7 separate regions of the Homo sapiens genome follow, and regions 1, 2, 3, 4, 5 and 7 are each linked to region 6. The links are contacts of gene promoters, found by promoter capture Hi-C in blood cells and fetal thymus (Javierre and others, 2016). All regions are on one chromosome and are shown on one strand. The core of a region is centred on a gene start or on the middle of the fragment in contact, and the rest is flanking DNA. Distances in the headings are between cores, read along the strand shown. Region 1 has its middle 42 kb from the start of USPL1. Region 2 overlaps USPL1 (ubiquitin specific peptidase like 1). Region 3 overlaps USPL1 (ubiquitin specific peptidase like 1). Region 4 holds the start of ALOX5AP (arachidonate 5-lipoxygenase activating protein). Region 5 has its middle 7.4 kb from the start of TRN-GTT2-4. Region 6 holds the start of UBL3 (ubiquitin like 3). Region 7 has its middle 21 kb from the start of LINC00398.

Region 1 (3,773 bases), core at 980-3,479, 720 kb before region 6:
TTAAAGAGACTGGGTCTCATGCTGTCACCCAGGCTGGAGTGCAGAGGTGTGATCATAGCTTGCTGCAGCCTCAAATTCCTGGGCTCAAGCCATCCTCCTGCCTCAGCCTCCTGAGGAGCTGGGACCACAGGTGTGTACCACTGTGTCTGACTATTTTATTTTCTTGTAGAGATGGAGTCTCACTCTGTTGCCCAGGCTGGTCTCAGACTCCTCTCCTTGAGTGATCTTCCCACCTCAGCCTCCCAAAATACTGGGATTACAGGTGTGAGCCCCTGTGCCCAGCTCTAGTCTCTTCTTATAAGGACACTGATCCTATCAGATCAGGGCTCCACCTTTGACCTCACTGAACCTTAATTACTCCTTAGAGGTCACGTCTCTAAATACAGTCACATCAGGGATTAGGACATATGAATTTGGGGGAACACAAATATTCAGTCCATGACAGCGACAATTCTGGAGAGTATTTGAAGATAAAATCAGCACAAGTTGGTAATCGATTTGATGTGGGGAGTGAGGTGGAAGGAGGAGTTTAGGATGACTCTCAGGTTCTCACAAAGATGCAGAGGAGGGGCAAGCCTGTGGGGTGAATGAACAGCAGTTCGGTTGAGGTTACTGTAGTTCAGCACTTGGAAAGCTTCCAGGAGATAGTTGCGATGCTGATGTGGAGAGAGGCAGCGACGTGTGTGGATGGCAGTGGAAGCCACAGGCTGGGTCACATCACCTAGGGAAAACATGTAGAGTGAGAAGACATGTAGGACTGCCAAGATGGAAAAATATTTACGAGGCAAGCAGAAGAAAGCAAAGGGAGACTTAAGAAATAACATACCTTTATCCCTGAACCCAAAGGAAGAGAGAATTCCAGGCAACAGGGAGTGTTTGACACATTCTGCGGCCTCTTTGTATCAAATTTGTATTCTTAGGTGAGAAAAGGGAACAGGCTTAGAATCATAGCTTTTTATTGCCCAGTAGGACCAAAAGAGATGATTTTATAATTCTTTATTCTACAAACAAGGAAGCTGAAGCCCTGCAAAGCCTTGGGATTTGTCTCTTTCATGGTACAGGCAGGAGTAGAATTTAGGTCTCCCAAGCCATTTGACTTCAATCCAGCGCTTTTTACAATACATCAAATAAAATCCACCATTGTGGGGTTTGAAAATTGGGTCTATGTTATAAAAAAAATTACACTAAATGGAGAAAGAAGCATTCAAATTTTATTTGTATATGCATTTGGGGAGAGGAAGACATAGTATAGTATAGAAAATGTCAAAGACTTTGTCTCAGAGGAGAGAATACCAATGTTGGCCTTGATGGTGATGATGAGATTGACTAGTGGAAGAGGGCCTAGAGACAGGGATTCTGTCCTTACCATATTCACAGTGGAAATGGCATGTTACCAGCGGCTCCTGTTATGTCCTGAGCACACTTAAAACGAATTTTTTTTAGAGACAGGGTCTCACTCTGTTGCCCAGGCTGAGTGCAGTGGCTTACTGCAGCCTCAAACTCGTGAGCTCAAGGGATCTTCCTGCCTCAGCCCCTGGAATAGCTGGACTACAGGCAGGTGTCACCATGCACCTAAGCACACATTTTTAAATGTGACTCTGTCTTATGTTTTTTTCCTATCATTGACTAACCCCACATTAGATACATAGCAGTACTGTATTATTAGAAAATTAATTTTAAGTCAGTACCTTATTACAGGCTTGAAACTGACAAACTTCATTACTTGGGGAGAGGAGTGGGTTCTTTTACAGGATTTCAAAATTGCCTTCAGCCACGGAGACTCCCTTAAGTGAAAATTTCTGTCAGTAACAGACAGTTTATCTTAGAATTCAGTTAATGGAGTATGTATTGAGTATCTACTATAAATGAACCACGATGTTGAGCACTTCAGGAGGTATTAATGAATTGAACAGAGTCCCTATGTAAGACATGTATGGCCTGTTGCTAGAGTGAAGGAACAGCGTCATATGAACCTTTAGACTCACAAATATTTTAATGGGGTCAGCGTAGTCAATAGGGCCAGTACATCCTCATCAGTACTTACTGAAAATATGAGCTGACTTCGAGCTGTATTTCTCACTTTCAAATTTTAAAAAACACAAACTGAAGCAAGTTTAACCACCATCATGGTTTGTATGTTAATTGCTTTCTTGTTTTTACTAACTACATAAGCATGAACTTAATATAAAAGGCTACTATTTTTTCATTTTATAACTTTATGGCATGAAAATGTATACGCTGACACTTAAAATAATAAACATATGCACACCATGCAGATACTTTTACTCGGAGTTTATATTTTTGGTAGATTTTAATATATCAATTAAGATAAAATTATACAGAATAACTGATTCCCCAACAGACACATCTTTAGTACGAGGCCATTAATAGAATTTTTATGTAGTATATGCATATTACAAAGAGTACATTGTATGGAAAATAAACCAAGCTAGATTCCTGGATTCCTAGCATGGTTTATTTAATGCAAGTATTAAATTAAAAAGTCTGGTTAGCATGCAGTTAGCATCATAAAAAGAATTTCCACATATGACTATAGTAGTATACATTTCTGCAGTAAGGACAGCCCTCTACAAAATTATGAAGTATGTAGGTATCTTGGCACAACCCATAACATTTTTTATTCCAAATATGAGAATTCTTACCACTGAAGGCATTTCATGAAAAGTTGGATCCATAATTCTCCACTAGTCAAGACTTTCAGTAGAATGAGCACCTTATTACATTCATCTTTATTTTCCTATTTCCTAGCAGGGTCATGGAAATTAGCATATTCTCAATGAAAGTTGATAAATGAATGCATTCTGCTAAAAGTAAACATTGAGAAGAAATTTTTACCGTCGATTATGTTGCCATAGTGCTATTATCACAAGAGAATTCATTTAGCAACCATTTATTGAACATCATCTATGGTAGACAGTGTGTTAGCACTAGGAATACAGAACTTAATAAGATGAGCCTTCCAGCAGTGGGATTGGGCAACAGTGGATGCAAGAGGCAAAAGAACTTCAAACAGTTGTGATAAAGAGGAAAGATAGTAATGCTATCAGAGAAATATCTACAAACAAAATAGTGTTATGCTATTAGAAAAATACAGAGTGCTGTGGGAGCCCAGAAGAGAAATTAATTCCAGTTGGACGTAGGAGTGTTTGTCAGGATTTCATATGGGAAGTGGCTTTTGAGTTAAACTTTGAATATCTCACTGGCATCTTGGGCATCTCAAATCCACTGGGTCTATACTTGTGTTCATCATTTATTCATCATTTTCCCCTTCCACCCATTCATCCCCAGCTTGCATGTCTGATAGTCTTGAACATGATTATTGATATTGCCGTTCACTGCTGGGTCCTTCCTTTTAGAAAATGCTAGATTAGGCCGGGTGCGGTGGCTCACGCCTGTAATCCCAGCACTTTGGGAGGCTGAGTTGGGTAGATCACTTGAGACCAGGAGTTCCAGATCAGCCACGGCAACCTGGTGAAACCTCGTCTCTGCAAAAAATACCAAAAAAATTAGCTGGACGTGTTGGCGCATGCCTGTAGTCCCTGCTACTTGGGAGGCCGAGGTGGGAGGATCACCTAAGCCCATAAAGTTGAGGCTGCAGTGAGCCATGATCGTGCCATTGCACTCCCACCTGGGTGGCACAGTGAGACCCTTTCTCCAAAAAAAAAAAAAAAAAGAAAATGCTAGATTCATTTGACTCCTTTTCTTTCCTCTCCAGTATTTATTTGGTCACTTTAGTTATGTGAAGTTTTGAA
Region 2 (3,628 bases), core at 956-3,455, 790 kb before region 6:
CACACATATATATATATATATATATATACATTTTTTGAGACGGAGTCTCGCTCTGTCCCCAGGCTGGAATGCAATGGCGTGATCTCAGCTCACTGCAACCTCTGTCTCCCAAGTTCAAGCGATTCTCCTGCCTCAGCCTCCCGAGTAGCTGGAACTACAGGCACACACTACCACGCCCGGCTAATTTTTGTATTTTTAGTAGAGACAGGGTTTCACCATGTTGGCCAGGATGGTCTCAATCTCTTGACCTTGTGATACGCCTGCCTTGGCCTCCCAAAGTGCTGGGATTACAAGCATGAGCCACCAAGCCCAGCCTTATAAAATATATTCTAAGTATATAAATATGTTATAAATATATTGTAAATATATTATAAAATATCATATTTTATAATGATCTGGAAGCATGGTGTCTTTTGTACATGCTAGACAAATCAGTAGCAACAACTGATTTTATTATAAAATATAAATATCATTTTTTAATATAAGTTAAATGTCACTCATTGAGAGAAAAACTAGAAGGCACTGATATTTTACATAATATGGGTTATTACTAATAGGGAGTATCATATTCTGCTACTATAACATTAATAGAAGAGTTAATACAAGGATACAAGAAAAATAAAACAAAAAGCCCTTTCAAAACAAAAACAAACAAAAAAACCCCGCAGCTCCTTTTCGCAATACTAAAAAAATTTAGAAAGGTTTGGACAGACTCTCTAGCTCACTTGCTGCACGCCACTCCCACAGGCCAAAAACCAAGTCACAGAGAACAAAGAGGTCCCATCCTTGTGCCCTTTCTAAAGGCGAGGAAGCTTTCCCAAAAGGCCATCAGCATATTTCTCTTAATATCCACTGGCCAAAACTCTACCACAAGGACATTCCTAAACCAATCACTGGTAGGGAAGTAGAATTACTATGGTTGGTTTAGATGAGATTCTAAACCCTGGGTACATATAACAATCATGTGGGGTTTCTAAAAATTACTGATTTCCTGAGCCCCATCCCTGAGATCCTAATTCAAATGCCCCAGCATTGGCATTTACTTTTAAATTCCCTCGGTGCTTTTTAATGCACAATTGAGGTTAAAAATGCTAGATCTGTCTACTAGGAAACGTACTAGAGAAGCAACTAATGATATGCCCCCTAAAATTCTCCTGGTTCTGAGAACTGCACCCACTCTCAAGAGGTGGAACACCAGCCTACATATTTATATGGAACAGCTCTGCCCTACAATAACTTACCCAGTGGTAGATTCCTAAGTCAAACTACTCAGATTCTCTCTCCCAAGAATATGATCATCCAAGGTAATCAAACAGTATTATATTTCCTTATGAGGTACATATTTCTATATGGTAGATGAGTATAATACAAGTAAGTTTTACCAATTACTTACCTAATGTGCATCTAAGCTGGGGCTGAAGGCTAATAAAAATTTCATCTCTAACTTCATTCAGACAGGTCTCTATCTCTGCAAATATTTCTGAGGTAAGTTTTTTACAATCTCCATCTAAGAAAATACAGAGAACATTATCAATTCCTCATCAATGTATATCTTCCCACAGAAAACTGACACATTCCCAAGAATGAAAGCTGAGTCAGTAAGTTTTGCAAACAGACAAAAAGCAAAACACAAAATTTCCTTAATTCTTTCTCTGTGGTATACCATATATTCCCTTAATATATGCTATCAGCACAATATCATTAGTACTTACTGAATGGGTAAAATCTCAGTGAAAGCCTTTCTCACCCAAATAATCACAGGTCTAGTAAAATAACTAACCTTTCAGATACTATGTCTATCTCTAAAACAGCTAAAGTTACCTCCTTATGTGCAATTACTTATACTACAAATGATGTCTAACCATTTATTCCACTCTGTGTAACTTTTATTGAACTTAGCCAGGTCATAGGAACAGATAAATTTATAAGGAGTCTTAATAAAGTTACAATTATTTCCCAAACTAATATCTCATATTTCCCTTCTATGTCATTTTTGAGGGGTTTGAAGGGGTCTTCAGTGGCAACATAGTGTTTATCCGGTTCCACATCCTGCTTTGTCTACACAAATGTGCTTCATTAAAAACTGACCAGCCTGGGCAACATAGTGAAACCCCTATCTCTTAGAAAAAAAGCTGGGTATGGTGGTACCCACCCGTAGTCCCAGCTACTCAGGAGGCTGAGGTGGGAGGATCATTTGAGCCCAGGAGGGTTAGGGTTCTACAAGCTGCAGTGAGCTGTGATTGTACTACTGCACTCCAGCCTGGGCAAGTGAGATGCTCTCTCAAAAAACAAAAACAAAAACAAAACAACAACAACAAAAAATCTGGCTAGTTATTATACAGTGACTGAAACATAGCACTTGTGTGTGTGTTTGTGTGTTTGGAGACAGGGTCTTGCTATGTTGCCTGGGCTGGTCATTAACTCCTGGGCTCAAGCCATCTTGCAGCCTCAACCTCCTGAGTAGCTGGGCTTACAGGCGCATGCCACTATATTCAGCTGAAACATCGCTTTATTAATCATTCTCCTATTGCCAGACATTTTAGTTGTTTCTTTTTTCACTATTATAAATACTATTGTGATAAATACCTTTGGGCACACATATCTATGTTTTTGATCACTTCTTTATGGTAATATTTATTATCTTCAAAATGGAATTACTGTGACAAGAAACTATCCAAGATTAATAAGAAAATTATTTTGAATAAAAGACTCTACATGCATCTGACTCTACTTACTCTTAAGCTACAAATAGATCTTTTCACTCACATCTCTTATAAATAATTCATACAGCCTGATCACACTCTGCTTATATGTTTCCCTAATGAAATATCTGGATTCTCCTGTAATATGAAATAAGCATTAACCAGAATTTTTGTTATTTGACCATGCCAAAAAAAAAAACTTACATTGCAAAGTAATGCAGCTCAAACATATAATTAACCAGATTATAAAAACTACAATTATTCTGTAAAAAATTAGTAACAGATTAAAAACATAAAATTAAAGTTAATTCCAATATTGAACTGCTGCTCTTCTGCAGCAAACAACTGAACTGTCACCTACTTAACACTGGGGTTTCTGTAATTAGAGAAAGCAGAAATAGAAGAAAAGTCAAAGGCAAAATGCTTGTGAGAAACTGAATTTTAAAAATTGCAAAAAACTGTAAATGACTGACACACACAAAAAAGTTCAGTCTCAAAGAAAACCTACACTGAAACAAAATATTTCTTACCTAACAAAACCATAACGTCTTGAATGTTCTAACCAAAGGTGGTTAGAAAACACTGAGGTATTTTTTCTACATAATGAAAATGGAATTATATATTGGTACAACCATTCTGAAAACTGTATTCAGCAAGACCTTTAATATTCATATTCTAATATCTTTCCTAGGAAACTAGTCAGTAATTAATTCAAAAGATATATGGATATTTGTCCTGGTGTTAATTCACAACAGCAAAAACTAGTAACAGCCTGAATGGTTAACAAGAGGGAAACGATGTATAAGATCCATATAAAAGACTGTATGACCAAACTCAAAATTTTTAGCACATTAATGAATAAGAAAATATCTACAATGTCAAGCAAAGAAAGCTTGGTATGATGTCACATCTGTCCCCAAAATATA
Region 3 (4,009 bases), core at 1,192-3,691, 810 kb before region 6:
CTTCTCCAGGGCTGCTTCTCTGCTGAGAGCTGAGAGGAGTCACCCTCTCCAGGGCCTTTTCTCTGCTGAGAGCTGAACACTTGAGGGACGACCTGCCCGCCGACACAGGGGAGCTGCTCACTGTGGGTCTCCTTCTGAGCTGTTCTAACACTAAATAAAGCTCCTCTTCTTCTTCTTCACCCTTCATTTGTCTGCATATCTGGACACAGGACAAGAACTCGGGCACCGTGGGCAAAGCGCCACGAGCAACAGGTTTCCAGGGGAAGAAAACCACCACAAAGATCACTCATAACACTAACATAACCAAAACTTCAAATCTAAAAATGTAATGCATCCAACTGTACAAACTGTCAGAAACTAGACGCCACTTTTCATCTTTAACATTTTGAAATCCTCATACTCTCACAAGAACAAAATGAAACCAAAAAGGAGAACACATTCAGTGATTTTAATGTGTAAGAAAGATTACATGCTTCATGGGCAGAACCAAAGGTTAAACCTTGCATTTTGTTCATGGTTATTACACAAGTAATTACACAAGTCCAGTGTATAAACACTACCTGAACACATTGTAAGTTCTTCTAATAATAATAAATATTATATGAAAAAAGTTAACAAGCATTAATTCAATAATTCTCAAACAGATATTCATCGAAATGAGGTAGGTCTAATGTGTCATTTGCTAAAGCATTTAATGCTGAGGAGGAAAAAAACTCATCGAAAATATCAGTCTTCATCGGACTCTCCAAGTTTAATGTTCTAACGCAGGCATTATTTGTCAGAGAGTCTGGCTGAACTTCACATGGATTTTTCTTGGTGGGGCTACAATAATTATGGTCCTGTCTCAGATGTGTGTTCTGGGAAACATCATTGAATTCACTTGGTACTGGTGGTGGGATATGACTATCTCCCATTCCCAAATACCTAAAGTCACCTTCCCCATTTTCTGACAGCTCTGTTGAAACAGGTGTAGGAGACAATAATTCCGCTAAAATTTCTTCATGAGTTTGACTACTGTACAGGGAAACACCAGGAACAGTGGTGCATGCAGACTCACTGGCAATATCAATTGGATATGGTAGCTCATTTAACAAGTCCTCTATTGATTCACAATCATTTGGAGACCCATCCTGGGGCACCTGTTCTAGATTTTCACTTCGAACTGTTCTGCTTTGCGGGGAAGACATAAGAGCAGCTAATTTCTTCTTTTCTGCCTTTAGCTTTTTACGAAGTTTTAGACGAAGTTTATGAATCTGACCTTCCACCAAGTCTTCATGGTTTGCTGAAGAAATACCATTCCCATAAGAACTGTGGTTGAGTTGAGCTCCACATGAGGTGCTTCCAGACTTTTCCAAAACTTCTGAAGCAGCATGAGCATGTGGGTGGGCAGCTGTGCCATTAGACGATGGAGGGCCTGCTGGTGGCTTACTGATGGGAGGAGGCTTACTTGCACTCTTACGAGCTTTCTTGGATACGTGGCTGGCCTTCTGGTTTATACCTTTAGTTTTAAAGCCACCAAAATTATTTACCCCTTTAACTGAAGGTTGTAAATCAGTTATAGTGTTTCTATTATGAGCTGAAACACAGAGTGGCATAAAAGAAGCACCCCTGCTTATTAAGCCTTTAACCCAACTTCCCACAAATGGCTTCTTCTGATTTTCTTTCAGAGACTGATTCTGTAATGACTTAGATGTTGTGGTTTGAGAATCTGCTGTAGTTTCTTTTTTCTTCAAATTAGATACCTGAGATGTGACACGTTCTGGTTTTAATTGTTCAGTTTTTGGTGTAAGGAATTGTTTTAACTGAGCGTCCTTCTCAATTTCTACTGACTTCACTCCCTGTATAAGACCAGTAGCATCAGTATTATTCACAGATTTAGTATTTACAGTATCTTCTGTATTCAGCTGTACTGACTGCATGTTTGTATTTACAACTTGGGATGGAAAACTTATGTCCACAAATTGGTCTTGAATAAGCTTTTCATTACATGGAGCTGATACTGAAGAAGCCATTAGTGATTCTTGTGATAGCAAAGTATTGGTTTTGAGAATTCCTGTATTTTCTGCTACAGGTTTATTTTCTAACAGGAAAGCTTCAGAATTTAACTGTGAAACTGAGGCTGTTTTCTGGATAGTTTCTTCAAGTGTCAGAGGTAAAATATTGTCAACCAAACCTTTTGGACCTGAAAGTAAATGATCTCCATGAGTTACAGCTGTGTCCTGTGAAAGAGTACGAGGGGCAACTGATATATCTTTAGGGTGAGTTACTGAGGCTGTTTCAGCTGAGGCAGCATCACCCACAGAACACGATGTTAAAGATACTGGTTTCTCATTACTGAGAGCGTGTTGGTCATTAGTCTTTTTAAGTGGAAGGCAGGCAGCTTCTTTATCTGTCACTTGGGATATTTTTCTTTCCCAAATAACAATATGTATCTCTGAAGCAGGAACTTCAAATTTCTTGTGCCTTTCAGAACATGGGCCTTTTAAGTCATCACATTCCAGCCAACTTCCTGGAAGATGGGAAAGAAGTGAAAGTTAGATATTCAAAAACCACCATCCTAGGTTAACTTTCTTCTGGCCTTTTCAACTGTTGTATCATTGAATACCGACCAAAGGAGAAGACTCTAAAACATGTTCTTGACCTTGTCACCATTGTCTGCCATGTTAAAGTCCTTAGATAGAGTATATTTAATTTTTGGAACTTAGAATTTGGTTATCACCTAATTTATCCAATAACATCAGAAAACAGAATGTTTCATACATATATGTTTTCATGATAAATGAAGCTTGTTACCTGAAGGATCACTATTCGTTTTAATTCTTGTTTTATTTCTGAGCTTCCATTTTCACATTTGTCAAGAGAGAATGAGATGATAGATGACAAGGGAAGAGTTTAAAAACTAGCAGTAGGATGCACTACCAAATACTGAAATATTAATACAAAACTTGGGAAAAGTCCATTACTTAAAGCAGTGTGTCGCTGGCAGTTATTTTTGCCTGAACAATTTCAATGGTGCCAATAGGGAGAGGGGTCCTTATGTAGTCAACTAAAGCATGAATGAGGAGTAAGAAGGTAACCTGTTTAAACCATTCCTTTAAAAAAAAAAAAAGACACCCATTAGGATGGATATTATTAAAAAAAAATAGAAAATAGCAAATGTTGGCAAGGATGTAGAGAAATTGGAATCCTTGTGTAACGCTGGTGGGGATGTAAAATAGTACAACTGCTGTGGAAACAGTCTGGCAGTTCGTCCAAAAATTAAACACAGAATTACCGTTAAGACCCAGCAATTCCTCTTGTAGGTTTATGCCAAAAAGAATGAAAAGCAGGGACTTTCAGTTCCTTGTCCACCAATGTTCACAACAGCATTATTCACAATAGTCAAATGTCCGTAACAGATAAATGGATAATACATACAATGCTACTCAGCCTTAGAAAGGAATGACATTCTGCTACATCCCACAACACAAATGAATCTTGAAAATATGCTGAGTAAAATAAGCCAGACACAAAAGGACAAATAATGTACGATTCCACTTCTATGAGGTATCTAGAATAGACAGATTCACAGAGACAGAAAGTAGAATAGTGGTTACCAGGGCTTTGGGGTGGAAGGATGCGGAGTTATTGTTTAATGAGTAGTTTCTGTTTGGGTTGATGAAAAAGTCCTGATGGTGATGGTGGTTGCACACAATGTATTCAATGCCAATGAATTGTACACTTACAAATGTTAAAATGGTAAATTTTATGTTATTTATATTTTACCACTACAACAAAAAAATACAAAAAGTACGGCTGAGAAGTAAAGGAAGGTGGCTAGGTGCTAACAGGTGGTGTGGGGTTAAGGGAGGGTATATTTCTTTACATTTTACTTACTACCACATGATAATTTGGGAAAAGCTAACCACGGGCTTGGATGAGTAACAACCTTTCTTAATAAATAATCAACAAATATCTGTACTTTCATTAGAAACTTATCAAAACAATCCATACTTCCACTGTATATATC
Region 4 (3,415 bases), core at 748-3,247, 880 kb before region 6:
AAGTCTAGATCTCCATATTGTGGCTGTCAGGACTCAGACATTTGGCCATCTTTAATCTTACCTCTACCTCCCACTTGTCCCACAGAAGAAGACTTAATCCTATCTGTCAAAAAGAATTCGAAATCTCACCACTCACCTCAATCTGAACAGGGTTTGCTAGACCATGATGGCAAAGTCCAGGAGAAAGCCCTGGGCAGAGCAGGGCCAGTTCCCTGGTGCACCTCCATTAGGAGAGGTGAGGAGAACCTGTCCTTGAAACAGAGAGCTCTGAAGCTTCCCACAGTTCAGCTCTGAATTGAGAGGGAGCTGGAGAGAGTGAGCTCAAACTTCGTAGCTGGGTTCAGCCCCAACTGCACAGGCAGGGAGGGGGCACAAGGTCCCCTGTCCACCGATGCTCCTCAGTTTTATTGATGGGTGTCAGGGGAGAGGCCAGAGGGGAGATCCTTCCAGAGCTGAATAAGTGCTAGCCACCTGCCCACCCATACAGCTACCTTTGCAGAGACTGCAGGCATTGCTGCAGGCTGACCTGTCCATCACTGTAGCTGTTTTGTTTCCTGCTCTATCCGCCTGTACCCAGAATACTATCTGGGCCAGAGCAGGGTCTCTGTACATGTATGCGGGTTGAATAATGGAATCCTTGCCAATTTACAGGGCCAAGGGAGCCCTGTGTGAAATCATAATGGCTCAAGAAAATGGTGGCCTAAATAAGCCATTTGTTCCCTCTCTGAGCTACAACTTTGTTGTGTGTAATTTAGTATAAAAATGTTTGGGTCAGAAAGCCACAAAGTGTAGTTCTTGTAGAAAACATACTTGGAGTGTGTGAAGCTGAGCCTTTCTGGTGCAGAGGCTGAGGGGGAGGCTTGCTCTGTGCCCAGAAGGCTACATCACCAGCATCTGTCCACACTCAAGATGGGGGAAAATAGAATATCCCAAAGTGATTAAATACTCAAAGTTCCAAAAACGTGACAGCATGTCAATGTTCAGTAATCACCATAAAGCTACAGCAGCTGCCCTTAGTAATTACTCTTTTTTTCTCTATCTTAATAAATATAAAACACAAAGCCACTGGAGATAGTTATGAAAGTGGTCTGAGGCAGCCCTAACTCAGAACTTTAGGAAGACAGCTCTACACAATTCTCCCTTTTCCAGATCTAGGTATCCTGCTTGTTTTTTGTTGTTGTTGTTGTTTTTAACTAATAGCAGGAATAATGGAAATGCAAACGCTGAACAGGACAATTTTCCTCTCTCTCTCTCTCTTTCTGAAGTATACACTGCATATGAAAAATGCTTCCAAAATTATACGTGCTAGAGAAAAAGAAGGTATCACCAAAAAAAAAAGTTTCTTCAGGAGAAAAAAAGAAAAAAGTAATATAGAGGAAAAATAATAAGATGATTTTTTCTACGCACCTCCCAAAATCACTTTCTTTTTAGACTGCAGATGACTGGTAACTTCAATTGCACTGCAGATGTTAGAAAAGCCCAGTATCTGAGTAAATGTGTATATCATGTTCCCTTTCTAGTCTTCTCACCTTCCACCCCTTGCCTGGCCACATTAATTAATAGTTAAAATGCTGATCATAGACACTTCGGTGAGGGTTTTAGCAAAACCTTCAAGTTGCAGCCCTGGCTCTAAAAATGGGACTGGTAATCACCACAAAAGTGAAAGACTAAGAGGAGGAAAACCCCAAATTTACACAGAAATACACACAACCCTATACATTCAAATAAAAAGAAGAAAATAAAGATAAGGTAAAAGTGTTTGTGCATGCGCACACACAGACACAATTGTTTAAGCCTGACTTCCAAACAACCATCAAAGAAAATCTCCCCTTCTGTTCTTCCCTGAGTGAAGGGCTTTCCTTACCATTCTGGACCACGCTGATGAGGGTGACGATGGCCAACAGGACAACATTGCCTACAGTTTCTTGATCCATGTTTGCTTCAGGCTCCCCAGAGAGGACTGCTCTGCCTCCAGCTGCACAACCTGCCCTGTACAGGAAGGGGAAGTGAGAGCTTGCACTCTTTCATCATTACAATTTCTGAAGATCCCCGGCACAATTACACAGTGCCTTCTTCTTCCTTTTTTTTTTTTTTTTTTTTTTTTTAACTAACCACCAAAATGCCCTGGCTGTGGTTCAGTGTGTCCCACCAGGAGAAGCAGGGCTTGGCAGAGGAGCACGCAAAGCCAGCACACTCTCCTACATTTCCTTGTCATGGGAAACTTCCCTGAGAGTCTCCAGAATGAATCCTGGACCCAAGACCATGACCAGCACGAGCCCAGCACAGGCACCAGAGAATCTGGAAGCTGCCATCATCTCTGACTTCAGCAAAGAGAAAGAAGGGAAAGTAAACCCAAAACTTTCAGGTCAGACAGAGTGGCATAAACCTGTAACCCCAGCATTTTGGGTGGCTGAGGTGGGAAGATTGCTTGGGCCCAGGACTTTGAGGCTACAGTGAGCCAATGATTATGCCACTGCACTCCAGCCTGGGCAACAGAGCAAGACTGTCTCACACACACACACACACGCACACACAAATGTAAAATGAAACTTTAAAAAAATGTATAGAACACCAAAAGATCTGTGCCCCAAATACTGTCCTTCTTTTTTTGAATTCCAAGAAAAAAAGTGAACACTTAACACACGGTAAGTAGCAGCCACATAAGGTTTGAATGAAGGAAGGAATAAATGGCAGTGGGGAGGGACAGCTGATATCTCCATTTCTTCAGAGAAAAGTAATAAAGGGAATTCATAAATTAAACCAAAGAATTCAAACCAAACCAAAGAATTCAGGTAAAAGGCAGAAATGGAGTTACAGATGATCCCTAAGGGAAATTCCCAAAGGGAACTGACTTTTCTGAGGCAATCGCAGAAACACCTTCCTGGAAATTCTTTTCAACTGAATAAGAGTAGAGTGGCTGTGCTTTCTGAGAAAGTATAAGAGTGGACCTGCTGGGTGGGTGAGGTGGCTGCCTGGTATTCTGCAGCTCAGATCAGTGTGAATGGCAATCCCTCTGAGGTTACATGGAAAATGCAAAATACCTGCAATCTTTGTCCCAGACTTAGCTATTTGGCATTGGTTAAGAGGTGCTTTTATCAAAACTTCACTTTGAAAGGGAACATGGACCACTGTAACTAGTGGCAGCAGGGAGGGCTGCATCTCGGCACGGAAGAGGTCAGTGTAGGGGAAGATATTGCTCCCTCATAGGTACAGTGCCAGAGGCCCGCTTCAATGCCCTCGGTTCAGCTGAGAGAGAAAGGCTGATGAAGGCAGCGTGCAGAGTTGTGTGCGGGGAAGCCAGCAGCCAGGGCTGTCGGGCTGGTCATGACACACTTGGGTACTCCCTGAGTACCTAGGGCACTTTGTAGAGTATAGACTTTATATTAGCCAAGGCTCTCCAGAGAAACTGAACCAA
Region 5 (4,109 bases), core at 710-3,209, 830 kb before region 6:
CAAACCATGGCCCCTCATGGACTCTTGCCAAGAGTTGAAACCTTGAAGGTTAAATCCTATCATATTACAATCCACTAGGAGCAGTAGGTTCTGTCCCAGTTGTTCCTGACCCGGGCTGGGGCTGTCCTTCTAGGGCAGTGGCTCTCCTATTTTTGGTCACAGGACTCCTTGACAACTCTTAAAAAGAAGTACTGAGGACCCCAAGAGCTTTTACTAATGTGGGGCACACTGATCAATACTTACTGTATTAGAAATTAAAACTGAGACCGGGCGTGGTGGTTCACGCCTGTAATCCCAGCACTTTGGGAGGCCGAGGTGGGCAGATCACGAGGTCAGGAGATCGAGACCATCCTGGCTAACATGGTGAAACACCGTCTCTACTAAAAATACAAAAAATTAGCCGGGCGCGGTGGCGGGTGCCTGTAGTCCCAGCTACTCGGGAGGCTGAGGCAGGAGAATGGCGCGAACCAGGGAGGCGGAGCTTGCAGTGAGCTGAGATCGCACCACTGCACTCCAACCTGGGCGACAGAGCGAGACTCCGTCTCAAAAAAAAAAAAAAAAAAAAAGAGATTAAAACTGAGAACTTTAAAAAATATGTCTGTGTATGTATATTTCATTTTTTAATTATAATAATAAACCTATGACTGATAAACTCAAAAACATTTCTAGGAAAAATAACTTTATTTTCTAAAACAAAAATATTGTGAGGAGGATAGCATTGTTTTTTCATTTTTGCAAATCTCTTTCACGTCTGGTTTGATTGAAAAAACTAGGTTCTCATGTTTGCTTCTGCATTCAGTTAGGTTCATTATCACACACTCTGTCACCTGGAAAATGCCACTGTTCACGTGTGAGAAAGTGAGAGTGAAAAAAGACAGATAACATATTAGTATTATTATGACATTAATTTTAACCTTGAAGATCCCCTCAAAGGTCTCAGGGACAATCAGGGGTCCCTGGACCATGTTTTCAGAACAGCTACTTTAAAGAAAGTTTGGAAACATAAGGGCCCTTTCTGATTGTCCCATTTACGAGCAGGCAGAGGTGCCCAGGTGTCAGAATGACCTATTCAGCCCTAGATGGTTCTACACAGGAAAGAACTGCCCAGCCCCAAACAACAGGGTGCCCAGAGAGGAGGCTAGATTAGTTCCTGCGGTAGGTGATCTGGACTTTTGCATATTTGCCCAGCATAACTTTGTAAGAGCTTAATAAACTTTTTTACATTTGTTAAATGAAAATGGTGGAACCAAATTGCAGACGAGATGGCTCACCTAATAATGAATCCAAATCAGATAGCTTTCATCGTGCAGCATTTTAACTACCACAGATTGTGTAACAGAAATTATTGCATGTCCCAGGCAATGCCTAAGGAACTGCTGTTTGTAACACAAACAGTCTGGCAGCAGTTAATCACATGGCTTTCCTCATTTTCTGTTTTAAACTTCTGCTGGACCTATGACCAGTTATCTGTGTGAGATGGTAAGCCTTCGTGTTACTCACTACCCCATAGGAAGGAGCAGATCTGATGGGGTTTCCTGATTAGGGTACCAAAGGAACAGGCAGCACTCTGTATACCTTAGTGGACAATGTCTGAGATAAGCTGTGATAGGCTAGCATCCCTGCAATTTGGTTTTTAAAACCCTATAGTAAATCATAAATCTGACTCGGTGTGGAATCCGTGGAATTAACAGGGATGTCGGGATCTGATTCTAGCCTGGAAGCTCCTGCTTTCTGAGGGCCACACTGGAGGTGCCCTCAGAATTCAGAAGGGTAGATCCTCCCACCCAGCCTCCCTCACCAGCTCCCTGGAGGTAACCAGTAGCTTTTCTCCTGGCTGCCTTTTGATAGTGTTTGTCATCAATCAACTTTATTAGTTGTTTGCTTTTTTTGCATCCTGATTCACCTCCTCAAAACCTCGCCATTATCAAGTCTCTTTGTTGTTCAAAATGTTCAGTGCATCCTGTCGGCACATTGTATAAATATGCCATAGTTGTTTGTACATCATCCTTTGATGACTATCTAGGCCATGTAAAATTTTCTGCAATTATGAGCACCGTTCCTAATGCAGTTTCCAGCCTGGTATTCAAGAGCCTCCATGCTCTGTCACCTATTAGGTTTCTTTACATCAGGCTCCACCCTTTGTAATCCTCTGCTTCAGCTGTGCTCCTGTGTCTGTGCCCACCCATCCACACCTCTGTTCCTTCTCCTTGACAACACTAAAGGATCCTCTCACTTGTGGTCCCTGCTACTGGGGATGCTGAGGCAGGAGGATCTCTTGAGCCCAGGAGTTTGAAGCTGCAGTGAGCTATGATGGCACCACTGTACTCCAGCCTGGGTAAAAAAGCAAGACCCTGACTCTAAAAAAATAAAAATAAAAAAAAAAAAGGATCCTCTCCAGTGTCAGCTCAAGACCTGCTTACTCCATGGCTCTGTACTTACCAGTCCTGTGTGAGAGCGGCCCTCTCACTACACCCTGACTGCGTGTTAGTATTACCTTTCTTTCTCCTTTGCCATTTGGGGAAAGAAATTTTTTATTTCATTTAATTTTGATTTTTGTTGCTAGTGACACTAATGATTGTTCCTGACTCAAATTTGTAAAACGTTTACCATTGGTGCCATGCAGTGGCACTTACAGCCTTGAAACGTTTTTGTGTATATCCTGTTTCTGCAAGTGGATTAATAAAGTAGGCCGAGTGGGGTGGCTCAGGCCTGTAATCCCAGCATTTTGGGAGGCTGAGGTGGAAGGATCGCTTGAGGTCAGGAGTTTGAGACTAGCCTGGCCAACATGGCGAATCCCTGACTCCACTAAATATACAAAAATTAACGGGGTGTGGTGGCCTGCACCTGTAACCCCAGCTAGTCAGGAGGCTGAGGCAGGAGAATCGCTTGAGCCCGGGAGGTGGAGGTTGCAGTGAGCTGAGATTGTGCCACTGCACTCCAACCTGGGCGACAGAGTGAGACTCTGTCTCAAAAAATAAAATTAAATAAAATAAGTAAGTAAAAATTTTAAAATTAAAAATAATACAGTGACCTGCAGTCAGGAATGGCCTCTCGGAGAGTCTTAAATGGAAGGGAGATCCCTGAAGCATCTAGCCCAATTCAGTCAATATCTGCTGGCTGTCATTTAACACAAAATGTATTAAGTATTTGAAAGTATATTTTTTAAAATTTAAAAAGTCTTAATATTCTCCTGTAGATTGAGTTATCCCACCCAAATGAAAACAACTCATAAAAACGAAGAAAAAAAATCAGTGCAAAGAAATTTTTAAAAATATTTTAAAAGGGTAGAAGTTATCTCTAATCTCAGGTACTCCAATTCTTTTTAAATGAAAGCATCTTCATCACTGATGATTCACATCTTGTAAAATTCCCCACAGAAGTGTGCATGGTCCATAGACACCCTTTTCTCAGGTGAGTGAAAGAGTTGAGAAGAGAGACCAGCGTGACAGTTCCACTGTGTTTGGCAAAGCCCCCCGCCGGTGTCCCTACCCACACACAGGCACTCCTCTACCCCTAGACAGAGATCTGGCCAAGCATAACCACCTACCTCCCTCTATCTGTAATTTAGGGAAACTGCTGCTGCCTCTCAACCCTGGCCCCGCAAAAGACTGCTTGCAGCAAATGCTTGAGAACATACTGGAAAAGGAATAAAAATCACCTCCCAGAGATAACCACTAATAATATTTCATAGAACTTTCCAAATACTGCACATGTGCACACACACATCCCATATTGGGGCTCACACCGCATATACAACGTGAAACAAAACTGGAATATAATAATAGTATCTGCCACCTAGGGATGCTGAACTTAAATGAGGTGATGCGTACAAAGTGTTCTAACAGCACCAGCACACAGAAAGATGTATGCAACTACGAATTGTCAGATTATACAGTTCCCCACAGTTCTCCATTCTCCATCTTACCTTTGAACTTTACATTTTGTCATGATCCTATGTTTTTAAATATCCCTTGAAAATATTGTTTTTGATGTCTATATAAGTAATATACTCTATTTTAAAAATATATCACTTTTTTTTTTTTAAGAGACAGAGTCTTGCTTTCTCACTCAGGCTGGAGCGGAGTGGCACAATCATAGCTCACTGCAGC
Region 6 (3,992 bases), core at 760-3,259:
TGAGTTTTATTGAGAATAATGTCTCAGCCCCTCTTAGAAGAGTAATTGGAAACACAGCGACTTTTGAAAGACATTGCCTTTTGTAAAGGTGGCAGTGGTAACCTGCAGCAAACAGCAACTCTTGCCTTTCTACTTACAGTGGCACTTAGGCCCGGCAGTGCCATGGCCAGGCAGTGCCATGGCCAGGGAGGTCATTGGATAAAAGTTGGAGTCAAGGGTATGGTGGAGGGACTAACTCTGTGAGTTAGAGCTTTCAAAATGTGCTCCAATATTCCTTCTGAGCTCATTGGTCAATTGAAGTATTTTCACCTGCCCTTATTTCCTGGGGGGCTGGTGTAGGGGTAGGGGGACTCTGTGGTTGCTAAACATTGCAAATGAGCAACCAAGTAACAAAGGCCATGGAAAATCACGTAACTATGGACTTGGAAATATCTAGACAAAGTCCTGAAGCCTAATCACAGTGAGATTTGGGCCTCTCTTCTCTTCTGGCCTTTGGTTTTTCGGAGAATTTGATCTATCTTCCTCAGGGTGATATAGGCCCTTAGGAGTGTTTGGAATTTCTCCACCCAGGCTACTCAAGAGGCAGGTACTCTAAATGTCCTGTGGGTTTCCAACTGATGAGAAACCCAACTGGAGAGATTGCTGTGGGGAATCACGTAGGCTTCTAGACAATGAGCTCCCTGAGGACAGTGACTGGATTCTGCCTCTTTTCAACAGCCCTATAGACAAGGATGTAATAACCCCCATTGCCAACCCAAGACCTTGGCATTTCTGCCACATGATGCTGCTGTTCGCTACAGTGACTCATTTTTAAACTCCTAGTGCCTAGCAGAGTGCCTGGCACATTTGTTTGCTGAATGAGAGAATGAGTAGTGACATTTCATATCAAATGATGCATTATTATTTACAAAGTGATTTATTTCCCATGCATGAACTCATCCTCATAACTACCCCTACTTTACCCCGGAAGGTAGGCAAGACCATTTTACAGATGAGGTCACACAGCTGTAGGTTGGAGAGGTGGCTTTCAGACTCTAAATTCATTGGCATTTATATATAGGCATCATATTGAGACTGCCCTTTCTAAAGTACTCTGTCAAAGGACTAAGAGATATGAATAGGGATTCAGATGTTGACCTCAGATTTAGGAACAAAATGCAGAAATCACAAATGTCCATCTGAATGGTGTCTCAACAATGGCATTATTTTCTCCTATTTGCTAATCACTGCAAGGCATATAGGTTTTCAATTACATTATGAGTTACATAGAATAGAATTTAGGGTCCAGATGGGTAAACTGGTGAATCCCCATGAAGTTTGTAGTAGCTATTTCCTGATACAGATTTGATATAATAACACTGTTGTATGTAATACAGTTTTGGTAATTTCAGTTAAGTAGATTGTAGCTTTATTGCCCTGGGTCTTCAAGGAAACACATGTTCAAATATTCTCACTGCTTAATGAGATCCTTGTTCCTGTTGAACTTATGTGACCTTATTGGAAATCAATGATTGCTTTTGTTCTTCAAAATGTAATGTTGAGGAGACCTAGATGAAATCACTCTACAAAATGCATTGAGATTGCAGGATGTGGAGAATGTGCTGTAATTAAAATGAATGATTCTGCTTGGAGGTACAGCATATTTTAGCTCTGTGTGCATATCGTGCATAAGGGAATTTCTCTATGCAGAATTATTTTCTCCCAACAATTCTCATGATCACAGCACTCCTGGTAGCAGGTATCACTTAACTCCTGGGCAGCAGCTTGTCCAAAGCAAGGGAAAGGGAGCTTTCCTTTCCTCGCAACTGTTGCTATGGGGGGCGTGGCTTCGGAGCTGGGTGAGGAGGCGTTCGGCGGCTCCCTCCCCCCCCCACCCTCGTAGACTACACTTCCCGTGATGCTCGAGGGAATGGTCTCCGTGGTGACGCACTTGGTGTCCGCGGAGGGAGGACGAGGACGGGGGCGGCGGCTGCTGCGAGGGGGGGCCCGTGCTCTCCCCGTTTCCCTTAGTCGCACTCAGGCAGCCGCCGCCGCCGCCGCTGCCGCCATGTTGGTTTGAGAGGCGATGACAGGAGGCGGCCGCGGCGTGTGGGACTGAAAAGTGAAGGAGGAGGAGGAGAAACAAAGCTCTGAGAGGAAACCATTCCCGGGCTGAGGAGAAGGAGGACCCGGCCTCTTCCGGGGACCAGCCGAAGTCGGCGTCGCCCGGAGCTCGCGAGGCCGGGGAGGGGAGGGGAAGGGAAGGCGGAGACCGGGGAGGCGGCGGCGGGGAAGGCGGAGGCAGAAGAGGAGTGGCGAGGAGCCGGAGACGATGCGCCCCGACCCCAGCTGCTGTCCGGAGGCGCCCGCGGCCTGAGCCCAGAGGGGCTGTGGAGTGTCCCGGCCGGCCCCGAGCACCCCCGCGCTGTCGGTCCCCCGCTCCGGTCTTTCGCTTTGGCTTCCAACTAGTTAAATGCCCTTGAGCGCGGGTTTCCGCGGCCCGGCTCTTCGCCCCCGCGGCGCGAGTTGAGCCGTTTCCCCGCGCTGTCCGCGCGGGCGCTCCGACAGCGGCTCTGCAGGGTCCGCGGCCAGCGTCCGGCCACCGCTCGGCCGCCACTCAAGGCTCACGCGTCGATGTGTAGCTACATAGTTATCTGTGTACATCCACGCTGGGGCATTTTTCTCCTGCTTAATGAGGACTTGACTCGGGAGCAAGTGTGAATCATTGCCGGGGCTGGGAAAGGAGGAAGGCGCATTTAACCCCCTCCCACCCCTCTCCATGTCCGTGTGTCACTCGGCTCGGTCCACCTGGCGCGGCCGGTCCTGGGGCTGCTGCTGCTGTTGACGACGACGACGACGACGGGGGCTGCCTCTGCTGTCCCGGGAGTTTCCTCCTGCTCCGGCCACACAGCTCCTGGGGATTGTTCCTCTTCGAACCAGAACCTCGGCCTGACCGGCACTTTGGCTCCAAAATAACTTTATTTTTGGGGGAGAAAGCACATCACGAACCAGTCAAAATCGTGGTTTATTTCTGTAACGTGAAGACTTCTGCTCTTTTTTCTTTGTTTGTTTTTTTCGTAAACATCTGGGTGTATATCAAACGGCAAGATGTCCAGTAATGTCCCGGCGGATATGGTAAGTGACGGATAAGTTATGACACTGATTTAATTGTGGTTTCCAATCTTATTTAATCGGAAAGACGGCAGGCGTGGGGCGAAGATTTGCTGGGGACTGTCGAAAAGCCACTGTGCTGAGCGATTTGGAGAAGTTGGAGCTTCTGGTTTCCCCCTTTTAGGAAGTACTGCTTTTAATATGGGTTCTCTCATTTGGTCGTGTTTTCTAAAGCATTGAAGATAGTGGAGAAGTAGGGAAATGTATCATGGTAGCTTGAGGGGACAAAACATCTCCCTCTTCGCTAGAAGCCTCCGAACACTAGTATTTTAACGTTTCTGAAAACGTCAGGGACAGTGGGCAGAGCTGAGGACGGGTGTCCCTACGAGAGAATAGGTAGGGAAACGGGAATCTTGCTTTATGACACAGACGAGATCGTCATTGCAGTAGGGACGAACTTGATATTTTTCAAGAACAGGGATGCACATCTCTTCAAGAAAAAGTATGTTAGAATTTGCTGTGAGGTTTTTGAAATGTCTGAATACGGATGGCAACAGAAATATAAAGATATTTTGGGATTTTCAGAAACGTAGGCTGACCCTGTATTGGTACTTACAATGAATATTCCAGGGCTTTTTAATGCCAGATATTTATTAATAGTAGATTCCATATTAGACATAAAGCTAAGGAAACATAGTATTGAGCCTCGATCACTGAGTGTTGAGAACTTGAAACAAAAAGTACTGTTGTTTATTGACGCCTTTCTTTGTTTTGTTTATAAAGGGTAAGGTTGTGAGTCGGTTGACTAACAGTAACCGTGTAACCTTACAGTGCTGGGGCTGGGCTTGTGTGAGTGTGAAGTTACATTTTGCAGTCCTAAGGACAAACATAATGCATTTAAT
Region 7 (3,662 bases), core at 817-3,316, 930 kb before region 6:
ATACGAATTCAGAGATAGCCAAAGACAGAGGATGGAGGCCAGTGAAGCCTTCTGTATACACCCACTGTCCATTTACCACACACTAGACAGACGTTTTGTGAGTCTGTGCCCTGCAAGGCACCATCCTAGGCTCATTTGTCTGTTAAGAGGTGGTCAGTGCTATGGAGAAACAGAAGCAAGGTAGGGGATTGTGGAGTGCAGAGGGGAGGAGGAGGAGGATGATGTGTTACAGGAGGAGGGTGGCAAGTAGAGCTGGCCTGAGAAGTTCCATGTGGGTGTCCAGAAGTAAGGTGTTTCTGGCATAAGGGACAGCAAGTGTGGAAGCACTGGGGCTTCCTGATGTGTGCAGAGGATGAGCAGGGAGTGGGCCTGAGACAGAGGAGCAGTGGGGAGGGATAAGGTGAGAGAAGAGAGAGGTCTTACAGGCACTGTAAGGATTTTACTCTGAGTCAATGACAAGCCACAGATTGACTTACATGTGTAGAGCCTTGCTCTACACCAGCACAGAGACAGTGTGAGCAGGAGCATGGAAAGTAGAAGATCAGCCATGGTGGTGTTTCTGCCCCTTAGTGGACATTTGTCAATGTCTGGGGACATTTTGGTTGTTGCACCTCAGGAGTGGAGGATGCTATTGGCATGTAGTGAGCAGAGCCCAGGGATGCTGCTGAACATCTTAGAATGCACAGGACAGCCCACCACAATGAAGAATTATCTGGCCCCAAATGTCAAATGTGCTGAGGCCAAGAAACCCCGAGCTAGGGGATTACTGCAATAATCTAGGTGAGAGGTTACTTATTAAATAGCAACTGAGCACCTACTATGTGCTGAGAGCTGAGAACATAGCAATGAGCAAAACAGACAAAGCCCTCTGCCCTCATGGAGCTTTATGCTGCAGTGATGGTGGAAGTTTAGAATGGCATTGGGCAGTGGGGGTGGTGAGAATGGTCAGATCTTAAAAATAATTTTTCGAAGGTAAAACTGACAGGATTTGCTAAGAATGGAATGTGCAGTATGAGAGAAGAGGAGTCAATGTTGATGCCAGGGTTTCATCCTGAGCAATTAGAACAGAGTTACCACTTACTGAGATGGGCCCACTAAGGGAGAAAGTGATTGTGTGGATGGAGAATCAGAGGTTTTGTTTTGGACACATTAAGTAGGGATGAGGGCAATGTGATATTTTAGTCTGGAGGTTAAGAAAGGGATCTCCTTTGGAGAAGACAAATTTTAGAAATTATTAAATGTGAGGAAGATCACTCAGGTATCTGGAGATGTGCAAGAGACTTGTGCAGCAAGCCTGAGCTCTCCATAATTAGGAGGTTGGAGAGTGTCTTAGTCTATTTTGTGTTGCTATAACAGAATACCTGAAGCTGGGTATTCTATTTATAAATTTATTTCTTAAAAAAGAGATTTATTAGACCTAAAACAATAAAAACCCTAGAAGAAAACCTAGGCATTACCATTCAGGACATAGGCATGGGCAAGGACTTCATGTCTAAAACACCAAAAGCAGGGGCAACAAAAGCCAAAATTGACAAATGGGATCTAATTAAACTAAGGAGCTTCTGCACAGCAAAAGAAACTACCATCAGAGTGAAAAGGCAACCTACAAAATGGGAGAAAATTTTCTCAACCTACTCATCTGACAAAGGGCTAATATCCGGAATCTACAATGAACTCAAACAAATTTACAAGAAAAAAACAAACAACCCCATCAAAAAGTGGGCGAAGGACATGAACAGACACTTCTCAAAAGAAGACACTTATGCAGCCAAAAAACACAGGAAAAAATGCTCACCATCACTGGCCATCAGAGAAATGCAAATCAAAACCACAATGAGATACCATCTCACACCAGTTAGAATGACAATAATTAAAAAGTCAGGAAAGAACAGGTGCTGGAGAGGATGTGGAGAAACAGGAACACTTTTACACTGTTGGTGGGACTGTAAACTAGTTCAACCATTGTGGAAGACAGTGTGGCGATTCCTCAGGGATCTAGAACTAGAAATACCATTTGACCCAGCCATCCCATTACTGGGTATATACCCAAAGGACTATAAATCATGCTGCTATAAAGACACATGTACACGTATGTTTACTGCGGCACTATTCACAATAGCAAAGACTTGGAACCAATCCAAATGTCCAACAATGATAGACTGGATTAAGAAAATGTGGCACATATACACTATGGAATACTATGCAGCCATAAAAAATGATGAGTTCATGTCCTTTGTAGGGACATGGATGAAATTGGAAATCATCATTCTCAGTAAACTATCACAGGGACAAAAAACCAAACACTGCATGTTCTCACTCATAGGTGGGAAATGAACAATGAGAACACATGGACACAGGAAGGGGAACATCACACTCTGGGGACTGTTGTGGGATGGGGGGAAGGGGGAGGGATAGCATTAGGAGATATACCTAACGCTAAATGATGAGTTAATGGGTGCAGCACACCAGCATGGCACATGTATACATATGTAATTAACCTGCACATTGTGCACATGTACCCTAAAACTTAAAGTATAATTAAAAAAAAAAGAACTTAAAATGAAAAAAAAAAAAAAGAGAGATTTATATAGCTCATGGTTCTACAGGCTGGGAAGTTCAAGGAGCATGGTGCTAACATCTGCTCCTCATGAAACAGTGGAAGGTCAAAGGAAAGGGGCAAAACTTAGAGGTGTCCTCACTTTGTAACAACCCACCCTCAAAGGGAAACAATCTATTCCCAAGAGAACTAATCCAAGAGTGGGAATTCAATCACTACCTTGAGAACAGTACTAAGCCATTCATGAGGGATCCACCTCCCATGACCCAAACACCTCCCACCAGACCCCAACTCCCAACACAGCCACAGTGGAGATCAAATTTCAATATGAGATCTGGTGGGGATAAACAAACCATATCCAAACCATATTATTCCACCTCTGGCCCCACAAAACTTATGCCCTCCTCATTGTAAAATACAATTATCCCTTCCCAATAGTCTCCAAAAGTCTTAACTTGTTCCGGCATCAACTAGAATGTCTAAAGTCCAAAGTCTCATCTGAGACTCAAGGCAAGCTCCTTCCAACTCTGAGCCTGTAAAATCAAAAACAAGTTTTTTACTTCCAAGATAAACATTCCCATTCCAAAGGGGAAAAAATCAGACAAACTAAAAGAATGACAAGTCCCACACAAGTTCAAAGCCCAGTAGACCGAACATTAAATCTTAAAGCTCCAGGTGCTGCCTCCTAGGCACACTGGTGAAAGGGGTAGGCTCCCAAGACCTTGAGCAGCCCCATCCCCATGGTTTTGCTGGGCAGAGCCCATGTGGGTGCTCCAGGGCTTGAAATCAGACACCTGTAGCTTTCCCAGGCAGGCACTACATGCTGCTAGTAGCTCTACAATTCTGGGGTCTTGAGGGCAGCCCTGCCTTTATAGCTCCACCAACCTTGGTAGGCACTCCCTGTAGTGGCTCTGCCCCTGTGTCAATTTTCTGTCTGGGCTCCCAGGCTTTCTGATACATCCTCTAATATCTAGGAGGAAGCTGCCACGTCTCCACTGCTCTTTCATTCTGTATGTCTGTAGAATTAGTGCCGCATGGAAGCTGCTAAGGCTCAGGGCTTGCTCTCTACAGAGCAGTGGCATGAGTCAAACCTGGGGCCACATGA

Evidence for each region. Contacts are between HindIII fragments. The CHiCAGO score rates a contact against its expected background, and 5 or more counts as called.
Region 1: a contact is called between a fragment that was not itself captured here and the fragment with the promoter of UBL3 in region 6, in 3 of 17 cell types (naive CD4 T cells, fetal thymus and naive CD8 T cells). The highest score is 6.7, in naive CD4 T cells.
Region 2: a fragment that was not itself captured here is called in contact with the fragment with the promoter of UBL3 in region 6 in 1 of 17 cell types (naive CD4 T cells); the score reaches 5.0 in naive CD4 T cells.
Region 3: a fragment that was not itself captured here is called in contact with the fragment with the promoter of UBL3 in region 6 in 3 of 17 cell types (naive B cells, naive CD8 T cells and total B cells); the score reaches 5.4 in naive B cells.
Region 4: the fragment with the promoter of ALOX5AP here is called in contact with the fragment with the promoter of UBL3 in region 6 in 3 of 17 cell types (total CD8 T cells, naive B cells and fetal thymus); the score reaches 8.1 in total CD8 T cells.
Region 5: a fragment that was not itself captured here is called in contact with the fragment with the promoter of UBL3 in region 6 in 1 of 17 cell types (total B cells); the score reaches 5.1 in total B cells.
Region 7: a contact is called between a fragment that was not itself captured here and the fragment with the promoter of UBL3 in region 6, in 1 of 17 cell types (neutrophils). The highest score is 5.0, in neutrophils.

Annotation. Positions count from the first base shown.
Region 1 is chr13:30,573,572-30,577,344 of GRCh38, reverse strand. It overlaps a transcript of HMGB1 not described here. Among named protein-coding and RNA genes, the nearest start is that of USPL1, 42 kb to the left of the region's middle. The HindIII fragment of the contact is 3,186 bases long and covers 637-3,773 here.
Region 2 is chr13:30,635,623-30,639,250 of GRCh38, reverse strand. USPL1 (ubiquitin specific peptidase like 1) reads right to left here. Exons shown (of 9, transcript NM_005800.5): 5 at 1,394-1,507. Among named protein-coding and RNA genes, the nearest start is that of USPL1, 20 kb to the right of the region's middle. The HindIII fragment of the contact is 2,782 bases long and covers 815-3,596 here.
Region 3 is chr13:30,655,974-30,659,982 of GRCh38, reverse strand. USPL1 (ubiquitin specific peptidase like 1) reads right to left here. Exons shown (of 9, transcript NM_005800.5): 9 at 1-2,509. The coding sequence ends at 627. Among named protein-coding and RNA genes, the nearest start is that of TRN-GTT2-4, 16 kb to the left of the region's middle. RefSeq lists enhancers at 62-181, 1-681. The HindIII fragment of the contact is 693 bases long and covers 2,095-2,787 here.
Region 4 is chr13:30,734,125-30,737,539 of GRCh38, reverse strand. ALOX5AP (arachidonate 5-lipoxygenase activating protein) reads right to left here and starts at 1,997. Exons shown (of 5, transcript NM_001629.4): 1 at 1,865-1,997. The coding sequence starts at 1,934. All of the region lies in intron 2 of LOC124903146 (a long non-coding RNA gene), which reads left to right. The HindIII fragment of the contact is 8,013 bases long and covers 276-3,415 here.
Region 5 is chr13:30,679,393-30,683,501 of GRCh38, reverse strand. No RefSeq gene overlaps it. Among named protein-coding and RNA genes, the nearest start is that of TRN-GTT2-4, 7.4 kb to the right of the region's middle. The HindIII fragment of the contact is 9,070 bases long and covers 1-4,109 here.
Region 6 is chr13:29,848,634-29,852,625 of GRCh38, reverse strand. UBL3 (ubiquitin like 3) reads left to right here and starts at 2,009. Exons shown (of 5, transcript NM_007106.4): 1 at 2,009-3,114. The coding sequence starts at 3,088. RefSeq lists silencers at 1,854-1,963, 2,234-2,533 and enhancers at 2,094-2,163, 2,834-2,903, 3,374-3,443. The HindIII fragment of the contact is 5,102 bases long and covers 1-3,992 here.
Region 7 is chr13:30,780,178-30,783,839 of GRCh38, reverse strand. No RefSeq gene overlaps it. Among named protein-coding and RNA genes, the nearest start is that of LINC00398, 21 kb to the left of the region's middle. The HindIII fragment of the contact is 5,080 bases long and covers 1-3,662 here.